Linked DNA regions of Homo sapiens: region 1 is linked to region 2. The links are contacts of gene promoters, found by promoter capture Hi-C in human tissues and cell types (Jung and others, 2019). All regions are on one chromosome and are shown on one strand. The core of a region is centred on a gene start or on the middle of the fragment in contact, and the rest is flanking DNA. Distances in the headings are between cores, read along the strand shown. Region 1 holds the start of FUCA1 (alpha-L-fucosidase 1). Region 2 overlaps LOC105376863 (a long non-coding RNA gene).

Evidence for each region. Contacts are between HindIII fragments. The study calls those that stand out against the background at their distance.
Region 1: the fragment with the promoter of FUCA1 here is called in contact with a fragment that was not itself captured in region 2 in 1 of the 25 tissues and cell types used here (aorta).

The regions. Positions count from the first base shown.
Region 1 is chr1:23,865,278-23,870,975 of GRCh38, forward strand. FUCA1 (alpha-L-fucosidase 1) reads right to left here and starts at 3,013. Exons shown (of 8, transcript NM_000147.5): 1 at 2,621-3,013; 2 at 214-348. The coding sequence starts at 3,009. It overlaps CNR2 (cannabinoid receptor 2), which reads right to left. Exons shown (of 2, transcript NM_001841.3): 2 at 5,238-5,698. RefSeq lists an enhancer at 1-1,174 and a silencer at 2,425-2,644. The HindIII fragment of the contact is 22,530 bases long and covers 1-5,698 here.
Region 2 is chr1:24,017,146-24,022,896 of GRCh38, forward strand. The region is part of intron 1 of LOC105376863 (a long non-coding RNA gene); the gene reads left to right. Among named protein-coding and RNA genes, the nearest start is that of SRSF10, 40 kb to the left of the region's middle. The HindIII fragment of the contact is 6,846 bases long and covers 458-5,751 here.

The DNA.
Region 1 (5,698 bases), core at 1,763-4,262, 150 kb before region 2:
GTGAAGCATCAAACACTGCCAATTCAAAGGCCAGAAGCCCTTCCGGCTACTTGCTATATGCAAACCTAGAAAACACACAGGAGTAGAAGGCCAAAAGCCCTTCAGGCTACTTGCTATATGCAAACCTAGAAAACACACGCAAGTAGAGGAGGTACAGAACTCTTGACAGCCAGATCCAAAGAGATAACAGAGTAACCATCCCTGGACACTCACCTCTTCCGGAGAGCTGTTCCCAATTCACCAACCAAATCCCGATGAGGCCCCACGTCTTTGGAGTTCCAGTTCCAAGACACAGGACTCGGCCAGTTTGTGAAGCCTTCGTGATGCTTTGTCGTCAAAACTACATACCTGTGGACAGCAAAACCACATGAGCAAAGGAAGTGGGCAGTGAACTTGCATGAACTTGCCCAGCATGCCTGAGGCTTTTTAAATAGCTGAAAGAACTTGACCACAACAAATGTACTTGTACCAGTGACTATATTAGTGATATCCAGGAAGCTGCTGCAGTCACAATTCCCCTTGGGCATTGCTCCAAGAATGGAAGCAGATTTGAGGAAGTCCCAACCCTCAGTCCCCAGCAAAGGAGGAGGCCCAGAGGGAAGGAAGGAGTGGGTAAGGGAAAAGAAGTGCACCTTAGCTCTCTGATTCTTCAACACTTCTGGTAGGAACGATTAACTTTCTTTCATTCTTTGCCCTGAAGGAGAAAGAGCTCTACTGGAAATGGCAGATAATAGAAAACTAAGCCATTTGCTGGCCAGGCATGGTGGCTCACACCTGTAATCCCAGCACTTTGGGAGGCCAAGGTGGGCGGATTACCTGAGGTCAGGGGTTCAAGACCAACCTGGCCAATGAGGCGAAAACCCATCTCAACTAAAAATACAAAAATTAGCCGGGCATGGTGGTGTGTGCCTGTAGTCCCAGGTATTTGAGAGGCTGGGGCATAAGAATCACTTGAGCCTGGGAGACAGAGGTTGCAGTGAGCCGAGATCATGCAACTGTACTCCAGCCTGGGCTACAGAGCAAAACTGTTTCAAAACAACAATAACAACAAAATAGAAAACTTTCTAGAAAACTAAGCTGTTTGGTTTACCAAGCCTACATAAATTGCCTCTCATTTATTATAGAGGTGACAAAAGACCCAATAACTGGGAGAAAAGGCAAGTGTTGAAATAACAACCAAATCACTCAATATTTAATTTGCTTTTATGGCACAAAAATAGGTAATGCACTTTATGGTTCAATCATTGGCCAGAGTAGGGAACTCCAGGATTTGAAGGGCCAGATAGTATTTTAGGCTCTGTGGGAGCACATTCCTCTCTGTAGTGTATTCTTCTTTAAAACATTTTACAACCCTTTAAAAATGTAAAAACCATTCTCACCTCATGGGCCTTAAAAAACTGGCAGAGGACCAATCCCTCTGGCCAGTTTGCAGACCCTGGTGCAGTGGAAACAACCTTGACGTCATGAGACCTGGAGTCTAGGACATTATATTCCTTCCTCTCTTTGGGCCAGTCATCTCATCCATGAAATAAAAGGCATGGAAAGAGGTTATCTCCCAGATTTTAATTTTTCTCACTTGTAAGTTATGGATCCCTAAGGCCCCTAGGAGACAAACACTTCCTCTGCTTAATCAAGTCTTATACTCCCATACATTTAATGGCAAACACTAAATGCCAGTTGTAACTTCTCTTTAGTACAAGTGAATTCAAAGTTCAAGAGAAACGAAAACCCGGAAGATGGCTGAGGAACCAAGGTAAGGATGGAAGACTGCTCTAAGCCAGGGGCTGGGGAAACCTCCCCGCCTCCATTTTTACTCTTCTCCAACCCACTTCTCTCCCAGCAGCCGAATGAATCTTTCTAGAAGCTGATAGTAACCACTCCCTGACTTAACATCTGTCAATACAGGGCTCTCAAGGCTCACTCCTTCAGGACAAGCCCCTGCCTTGACAACTTCATGGGTCGTGGTCTCCCCTTATCCCCACCCCAGCGCTCTCTACTCTGTTCTCTGAACCAGCCACCCCCAAGTTCCAACAGTTCTCAGAGAGAGTCAGACCCTTCCTGGACACTTCCTACGTAAAAGGGATTGAGAGGAGCAAACGAATGACTATCTGTACTGTTGCCCAAATACACTGCACACCAGAACTCCCCTCTCTTTCCCTCTTAGAGACATTAGGGCTCAAAGGGTTGTATCCTTATATAACCCCTTTCTACAACCATAGAAGAGGCTGCAGGGAGGCTGAAGTGACATGTCCAGGTTCACAGTTGAATTAGAACCAGGCTCCACACCACTGATTTGAAACCCTGGAGTCCTGATAGTGCTGTCAATCTGAAAGGGACATCAGGTATGGCCTAACTCAGCCCTCTCGGTGCACAGGTGCAGATACCCAGGGCTTCCCAGCCTGCCATCTCCCTGAACCTTCATTTATCAGTCCCCAGTCAAACGCACCTCCTCCTCCTCATCAGGTGTGCCAGGCTCACTCCTGTGGCCGCAGGAGGCCACACGCGGGCCCCGGGGTCATGGGGGCGACCGGCAGCTGCGCGCCCCAGCTGGCCGCCCAGCCCCACCTCCTGTTTGCCGCCCGAGCCGGGAAGGGGCGCCGCTCCCCGGGACCACACTCACTTGGCGCCCGCGGCCTGGAAGAGGTCGGCCCACTCCTCCGGGTGGAAGAAGCGCGCAGTGAACTGCGGTCCGAAGTCGGCGTAGCTGAAGCCGGGCGGGTAGTTGTCGCGCATGAAGCGCTGGTACTGCGGCCGCCCCTCGCCCTGCCAGTGCCACCAGAACCACTCGCTGCCCCAGGCGGGCACCGAGAACACGCCCCAGTGGATGAACACCCCGAACTTGGCTTCGTCGAACCAGGCCGGCAGCGGCCGAGAATCCAGGCTCGGCCAGTCTGGGGTGTAGCGGCGCGGAGGCTGGGCCCGACGCACCGACTCGGCCGCTCCGAGGAAGAGCAGCAGCAGCAACAGCGCGGGACCCGCCGGCCGCGACCTCATCCCCGGAGCCCGCATCGCTACCCCTCAGCGACGCGGCCCACTCTTAACGCGCAGGTGCCCGCGGGCGGCTCCGCCCACTCTGACTAACGATTGGCCCGGAAGGAAAAAGGGGTGGGACAACCTGGACAGGTTGGCCCGAGTCGCTTCCTCCTCGGGTCGGAGGAGCGCCCTCTGGTGCTCAAGAAGGGAAAGACGCAGGGAGGCGTTGACAGCGCTTCGCTGAAGGACGAATAAAAACCTTGAAAAGGGACTTAACTGCGAGGTTAAATCGTGGAGGTGAGCAAGGCCCAGTGTGTGCGGAGAACTCACATTTAAGAAGGAGTCCATTGAGCCGGACGCAGTGGCTCACGCCTGTAATCCTAACACTTTCGGAAGTCGAGGCGGGAGGATCGCTCTGAGCCCACAAGTTGGAGACTAGCCTGTCTCTATAAAAAATAAACAAAATGAGCCTGGCGTAGTGGTGCACGTCTGGAGTCCCAGCTACTCGAGAGGCTGAGGTGGGAGGTTCGGGATCGCTTGAGCCCGGGAAGTCTGGGCTGCAGTGAACCGAACCGTGATCACGCCTCTGGGAGTAGTCCATTTTGCCGCAGCAATCCTGCAGGGGTAGGCTGAAGTGAGATCACGAGTTTTATTTAGTGATCACTTGGGAGCCATAGGGGGCTTTTGAGTTGTCCTGTAGCACAAGGCTGGAGGAGGAGATAACAGACCGGAAGGGTATCTAACAGCCCTGACAGAAATAAGGAGGTAGAGGGATGATGGGAAGAAACGTTATGAAAGGAGAGGAAAGAGAAAACTGGGTACTGAAAGAGGGAGAGCGGGCAGGACCGTTTCATCTGTCTGGTATTTACTGAGCTTTCTTTGGGAATTCCGAGGCATTTCAAATAGCTTAGTTTGTACCGAGATACCGCCACTGCACTCCAGCCCCTGGGCGACAGAGCCAGACCAAGGAAGAAAGAAAGGAAGGAAGGAAGGAAGGAAGGAGGAAGGAAGGAAGGAAGGAGGAAGTGGAGAGCCAAGAGGACCCAGGATTGCCTGGCAGGGAAGTTCCCCAGTTCCTCTGCAATTTGCACATGCTGCACATACTCAAACGGGAGGTGAGGCCATTAGCGAGGGAAATACGGAAGTCAGAAGTCTCTGAACAGACAAGGTGGCTCACGCCTGTAATCCCAGCACTTTGGGAGGCCGAGGTGGGCAGATCACCTGAGGTCGGGAGTTTGAGACCAGCCTGGCCAACATGGTGAAACCCCATCTCTACTAAAAATACAAAAATTAGCCGGGCATGGGGTGCGCCTGTAATCCCAGCTACTCAGGAGGCTGAGGCAGGAGAATTGCTTGAACTCGGGAGGTGGAGGTTACAGTGAGCCGAGATCGCACCACTGCACTCCAGCCTGGGCGACAGAGTGAGACTCGGTCTCAAAAAAAAAAAAAAAAAAAAAGAAAAAGAAAAGGAAGAAGAAGTCTCATGACTCCACGTAGCACACTCAGTTCCCACATGCCAGTGAGAGAATGGCAGCACATCAGAGTTGGGACTTTGAAGATCCTAGGCACCATCCTCTTCCCTACCCTTCCCATTGTACCGAGGAGGGAACTGAAGCCCAGAGAGGGCTGGGGGGCTGCCCAAGATCATGCAGCTAGTTTGAGTCAGAGGTGGGACTAGAATACGTGTCTCCAGGTGCAAAATCTATGCCTTTGTTCATGCTGCTTCTTTCTTGCACCTCATGAGAAGTCAGAGCCTATGTTGACAGAACCCAGCACTTCCTCACTCTGGCAGTGACAAGGAGAGAAAATGACTATTGCTGAATCACAGCTGTTTTCTTTTCTTTTCTTTTCTTTTTTCTTTTCTTTTCTTTTGAGATGCAGTCTTGCTCTGTCGCCCAGGCTGGAATGCAGTGCTGCAATCTCAGCTCACTGCAACCTCCACCTCCTGGGTTCAAGCCATTCTCCTGCCTCAGCCTCCCGAGTAGCTGGGTTTACAGGTACGCCACCACGCCTGGCTAATTTTTGTATTTTTAATACAGATGGGGTTTCGCCGTGTTGGCCAGGCTGGTCTCGAACTCCTGACCTCAAGTGATCCGCCAGCCTCAGCCTTCCAAAGTGCTGGGATTACAGGCATGAGCCACTGCACCCGGCCTACAGCTATTTTCTTTATCTTCTGTTTCTTTTTCTGCCAGATTATGTTGAAATATTGCCCAAAACAGTAAGCATGAACACCTTAGGAAAAAAACCGAACCCATCCACACACATTTTCTAGTAATCGGTTTGCATAGTGGTCTTTAATGTTACAGAGCTTGTCTTGGGGAAGATAAAATGGGACATTGTGATCTTCAATTTATTTCTCCTTATCCACATAACCAAAATGTGAACCTGCAGGGACAGGTGAGAGGCACTGATGTAGAGTGGACAGAACTGGAAGTTAGGAAACCTAGGTTTGTTGCACTGGACACCATCTCGTTTGTCTCCCTGAGCAAGTCTTGTCCACTGTCTGGGCCCATTTCCTCAACCAAACAACAAGGGCAGTTCTCAGTGATATCTAGGTCCCTTTTGCACCCTTGTTCTCCTCCCTCATAAGCTCTGCTTCTCCACTTAAAGCAGACATAGGGGCTGGGAGTGGTGGCTCACACCTGTAATCCTAGCACTTTGGGAGGCTAAGGTGGGTGGATCACTTGAAGTCAGGAGTTCAAGACCAGCCTGGCCAATATGGTGA
Region 2 (5,751 bases), core at 2,631-5,130:
TTCAAGTGATTCTCCTGCCTCAGCCTTCCGGGGAGCTGGGATTTCAGGTGCCCACCACCATGCCTGGCTAATTTTTGTATTTTTAGTAGAAATGGGGTTTCATCATGTTGGCCAGGCTGGTCTCGAACTCCTGACCTCAAGTGATCCGCCTGCCTCAGCCTCCCAAAGTGCTGGGATTACAGGTGTGAGCCACCGCACCTAGCTTAATGTCTAGTGGTTTTGCAGGACGAGGACACAGATAAATTCTTGGGCTCAGGGGTCAGGTATACCCCTTCCCAGGCAGAAAGTAAGATACCATGAAAATTGTTCTTAAATGTGATCTAAGTACTACAGGAAGGTGATGAGGGGACCTCACCAAATGCAGGATGTAACCAGAAGTGACACTGGTACCCCTGCTAAGGACTGGGCACTAATGCCATAGCATCTCCTTCAACCCTCACATTAACCCTATGGTGGTAGAATGACTCCTATTTTGCTAATGACAAAACTACATGCATTTACTCAACAATCTTCCTTGTGCACCTACTACATGCCAGGTATTTTCTAGGTGCTGGAGGTAGAGCATGGGCAAAAGGGACAAAAATCCCTGTCCCTGTGGAAGTGACATTAACAAGGTAATAAATAAGTTAAGGAAGTAAAATATAGAGCATGTCAGGTGGTGCTAAGAGCATGGAGAAAAATAAAGAAGAGTAGGAGCGTGGGGGATGCGTGAGGCTGCAATTTGATTTCTTTCTGGTTTTTTTTTTTTTTTTTTTTTTTTTTTTTGAGACAGAGTCTTGCTCTGTCACCCAGGCTGGAGTGCAGTGGCATGATCTCGGCTCACTGCAACCTTAGCCTCCCAGGTTCAAGCAATTCTCCTGCTCAGCTTCCCAAGTAGCTAGGATTACAGGCATGCACCACCATGCTCGGCTAACTTTTGTACTTTTAGTAGAGACGGGGTTTCACCATGTTGGTCAGGCTGGTCTTGAACTCCTGACCTCAAGCAATCCACCCGCCTTGGCCTCCTAAAGTGCTGGGATTACAGGCGTGAGCCACTGTGCCCAGCCTGCAATTTGATTTAAAGTGACTAGGGCGGCTGGGCAAGGTGGCTCATGCCTGTAATCCCAGCACTTTGGGAGGCCAAGGCAGGTGGATCATCTGAGGTCAGGAGTTCAAAATCAGCCTGGCCAACATGGTGAAACTCCACCTCTACTAAAAATACAAAATTAGCTGGGCATGGTGGCACATGCCTGTAATCCTAGCTACTTGGGAGGCTGAGGCAGGAGAATCGCTTGAACCTTGGAGGTGGAGGTTGCAGTGAGCCGAGATCGTGCCATTGCACTCCAGCCTGGGCGACAGAGCGAGACTCCATCTCAAGAAAAATAAATAAATAAATAAATAGAATAAATACATAAATAATTAAAGTAACCAGGAAATGTCTCATGGAGATGACCTTGGAACAAAGACATGGAGAAGGCAAGGGAGGTGGCCACGAGGATAACTTGTTCAGAAACTGACCTGGGGTTCCCAGGAATTGACAGGGCGGGTACTGGAATCTCTGTCTGGCTCTAAGGCCAGTGCTCTCCTTTCAACAAGGCTCTTTTTCAAGAAGCAGTGTCGCTGTCGTCCAAGCAGGCTGTGTGCGTGTGATGCTGTGTGCGCGCACATATGTGCTATTTAGGAATGTGTTATATTTCCATGGGTAGACCCTGTGGGGACCCAAGCTTCCCTACTGACATCTTCCAGAGGCTGAGGCCTCACATTGTTGGTTTTCATGGAAACTTGGCAACTTTCTAGTTATCCCGCCCTGAGCCCTGCACCACATTCCAATGGTTTTATTTGTGTGCCTTGGAGCTGTGCCAGGGCTGGGCCTGGGACAGGTTGCCATGGCGACCTCCCCACTCTTTCCAGATAAGAATTTCTCAAGGATGTTGACGTTGGGCCTGAAATAGTTCTACCCTGCTCTCAGCCCGTAGGAGGATGAACTTTGGCATGGAGAACTGAGTTAGGAAACCTACTCATTCCCTCAGTCTTTCAATTTGTGTACACTGAATCCTGGGTAAGAAAGACTTCTCGGGAGGGTACTCCAGGGCCCCCCAGCTTTAGGATTGAGGATGGCTTTGCTTAGGTACTAGAAGAGCTTCTTTCAGTTTTTCCATTCCAGTTGTTATATTCAGTGCTTGCCTTTGAGAGCCCTGCTAACATAAGATATTTTTTTTTCTTTTTTTTTCGAGATGGAGTCTCGCTCTTGTCATCCAGGCCGGAGTTCAGTGGTGCGATCTCAGCTCACTGCAACCTCTGCCTCCGAGGTTCAAGTGATTCTCCTTCCTCAGCCTCCCGAGTAGTTGGGATTACAGGTGCCCGCCACCATGCCCAGCTCATTTTTGTATTTTTTTAGTAGAGATGGGGTTTCACCATGAGAGCCAGGCTGGTCTCGAACTCCTGACCTCAAGTGATCTGCCCGCCTCAGCACCCCAAAGTGCTGGGATTATAGGTGTGAGCCACTGTGTCCAGCTTTTTTTTTTTTTTTTGAGATGAAGTCTTGTTGTGTGGCCCAGGCTGGAGTGCAGTGGTACAATCTTGGCTCGCTGCAACCTCTGCCTCCTGGGTTCAAGCAGTTCTTGTGTCTCAGCCTCCCTTGTGGCTGGGATGATAGGCATGTGCCACCACGCCCAGCTAATTTTTGTATTTTTAATAGAGACGGGGTTTCACCATGTTGCCGAGGCTGGTCTTGAACTCCTGGACTCAAACAATCCTCCTGCCTTGGCTTCCCAAAGTGTTGGGATTACAGGTGTGAGCCACTGCACCTGTCCTGAAAGAACAACTGTCACTGGGAATTTGCTTTCAGAAAGAAAAAATGTCAGTGTTCATGCCTTTAACTCAAAATAATTCTTAAGCCAAAATAGCATATTTTGGGGTGGCGTATTCTTCCGCCCTTCACTTTTTTTCCCAGTAAATATTATTTTGAGTGAATAAAGTGACTCATCCAAAAATTCTTTTTTTTTTTTGATGACTTGTCCAAATTCACTGCATCAGTTATCTATTTCTGTATAACAAAACACTCTTGGATTTAGTGGCTTATGACAACACTGTCTTATTTGTTTATGATTCTGTGGGTCAGCTATTTGAGGTGGGATGGATGGTTCTTCTCCTGGTCTTGGCCGAGACCACTTGCAACTGCAGTCGGCTGGGGGTTTGGCTGGGAGCTGGTTGATCTGGGGCCTCAGCCAGGGTATGTTTTTGCTCCTTGTGGTCTTACGTCCAACAGGCTAGTGTCCTGGGCTTCTTTCTGAGAAAGTGAGGCTGAGGGCCTCTTCAGGGGCAGATCCTGAAGCAGTTCTAGGGGTCTTCTCTAAAGAAAATAAAAGCCATTAATATGAAATTAGGTCCAGAGCCTTGGAAGAGGCCGGTGCAAGTAAAGGGCCCAAAGCTTGAGCTGCAGGAGCCTCCCAGAACATCCGCCTTTGGTCTTCTCTGCTCTTGGATCCTCAGTGAGACTTGATGGGGTCTGACATCATTCTTACCCTTGAGAATGGGCCAGGGAACTAGCATGACATGGAACAGGGCCTCTTCTCAGTGACACACCTAAGAACCCTCTCCCTCCTCCCCAACTTGCCCCTCTCCTCTCAATCTTGAAGCTGCTATTGCTGTACTTCATCACGCTGAATTTATTGAGACACAAACTTTTATCAGGCTTTAGATTTTATTTTATTTTATTTTTTTTGAGATGGATCCTCACTCTGTCACCCAGGCTGGAGTCCATCTTGGCTTACTGCAACCTCCACCTCCCGGGTTCAAGCAATTCTCCCACCTCAGCCTCCCGAGTAGCTGGAATTTCAGGCGAGTGACACCACATCTGGTTAATTTTTGTATTTTTAGTAGAGATGGGGTTTCACAATGTTGGCCAGGATGGTCTGGAATTCCTGACCTCAGGTGATCCGCTCGCCTCGGCCTCCCAAAGTGCTGGGATTACAGGCATGAGCCACTGGACCCCGCCAGATTTTATTTTATTTTATGAGTCAGGATCTCAATGTGTCGCCGTTGGAGTGCAGTGGCGCGATCATGGCTCATGCAGCCTCAAACTCTCCATCTCAAGTGATCCTCCAACTTCAGCCTCCTAAATAGCTAGGACTGTAGGTACTCCACAAATGCCTGGTGAATTTTTGTTTACTTTTTGTAGAAACAGAGTCTCACTATATTGCCCGGGCTGGTCTCAAAACTCCTGGATTTAAGTGATCCTCTCCTTGGCTTCCCAAAGCTCTGGGATTACAGATGTGAGCCACTGCCCCTGGCCTAGGCTTTAGATTTAAAAATTCAACTCCTGCCCCTATTTCCCCCCACAAATATGCTCTCTGGCATAAATTTCAAAGGTCTATTTGAAACTCAAAAGCTAAGAATGGACTCTTTGTTCTGCTGTATCCCCCATCACTTCCTGAGGGAATGAGCTTCAAATGTCCTACCTGCTTCCCAAATGGGCGGAAAGATTCAGGAACAAAGCCCACATTAGATAACAGTATAAAATAGCTTCCGGCTGCATGGTTAGAACTGTTTATTTACACAGGTTTAGGAGCACCAGGTGAAAAATGTGAGCTTTGCCCTCACTTGGGGTTCAAATTTACCTGGGCATGTTTGGTGGGGGATGGAACCACACCGTAGGTGCAATTGTGTTCCAGAGAGAGAGGCGACAATGGAGAAGAAGGAATACACCATGCTAGGCTCAGACGTGGGGCCTTGGGTGGGATGTAGGCAGTGGCTCTTTGCACGGGGTGTGGCTATAACTGGGACCTCCAGGTGGTGGCTCATGGTTGCACTGGGGAAGTAAACTAATCTAGGCATAAAAGTTGATGAAGCTGTAGCACCAGGAGTCCAAGCTGTGAAGGAAGTTGAGTCCTTCCTCCGCCAGCAGCAGACTGTGAGCTGCAGAGTCAAATATGTAAGTAGCAATTATTGGTGAGGCTGTTGGCAGCTCATGGACAAGAACAGAGGTTGTTGGCAGGCAGGCAAATAGCAAGGGCAAGGTCAGTGGCCCTGGTTGGGTTCTGGGTCTGGTGTGATGGTAGTGAGAACTGCAAGAACTCTTTTCACCTAATGACTCCAAACTCCTGTGCTAAGAGATTTGACCAGCCCTAGCATGGCTTCTAGCAGCCTAAGGTGGCATCTCTGGGACCATCCAGCCCCCTTTTAAGTTCCTGTCTGTAAAATCTCCGGGCTGTCAAAAGAATTAACTGTTTGTTGCAGCCAGCACCTAACATAGACCCCTGACCTCCCTTTTGCAAAGCATTCATGCAAAGGGCTTCCTATTGAGACTCCTTCCTCTGCCCCTTTGAGATGTGTGTCTATCTCCTACAACTTACCTTTCTCAAAGACCTGAAAGCCATTCCTTTGAAATGTGATTATCAGGAGGGCCTCTGTCTCCCAGTCTCTGTGGGAGGACAGAATCCCGACCTTGTTGATCACCAGCTAGCAGACACAGCTGGCCGACTGCATTTTCACTTGATCATTTTTCCCTTTAGTCCCTGCTTGCCTCCACCCACTCCCACTCCCACTCCCACTCCCATTCTCCCTTTAAAATGCTGTCACCTCTGGGTAAACCAGAAGAGAGCTCAGCTCCTTTCCCTACTGCCCCTCATTACTGCATATAATCTGTTTTCACTGCTTTAACTAGTGTCTGGCTTGTTTTTCTTTGACAGTTGCTCAGGGGTTAGAAATGGCCCTCCTGGGCAACTCAAAGCTGCAGCATGCATGAGGGGTGAATCAGAGGAGAACTGGTAT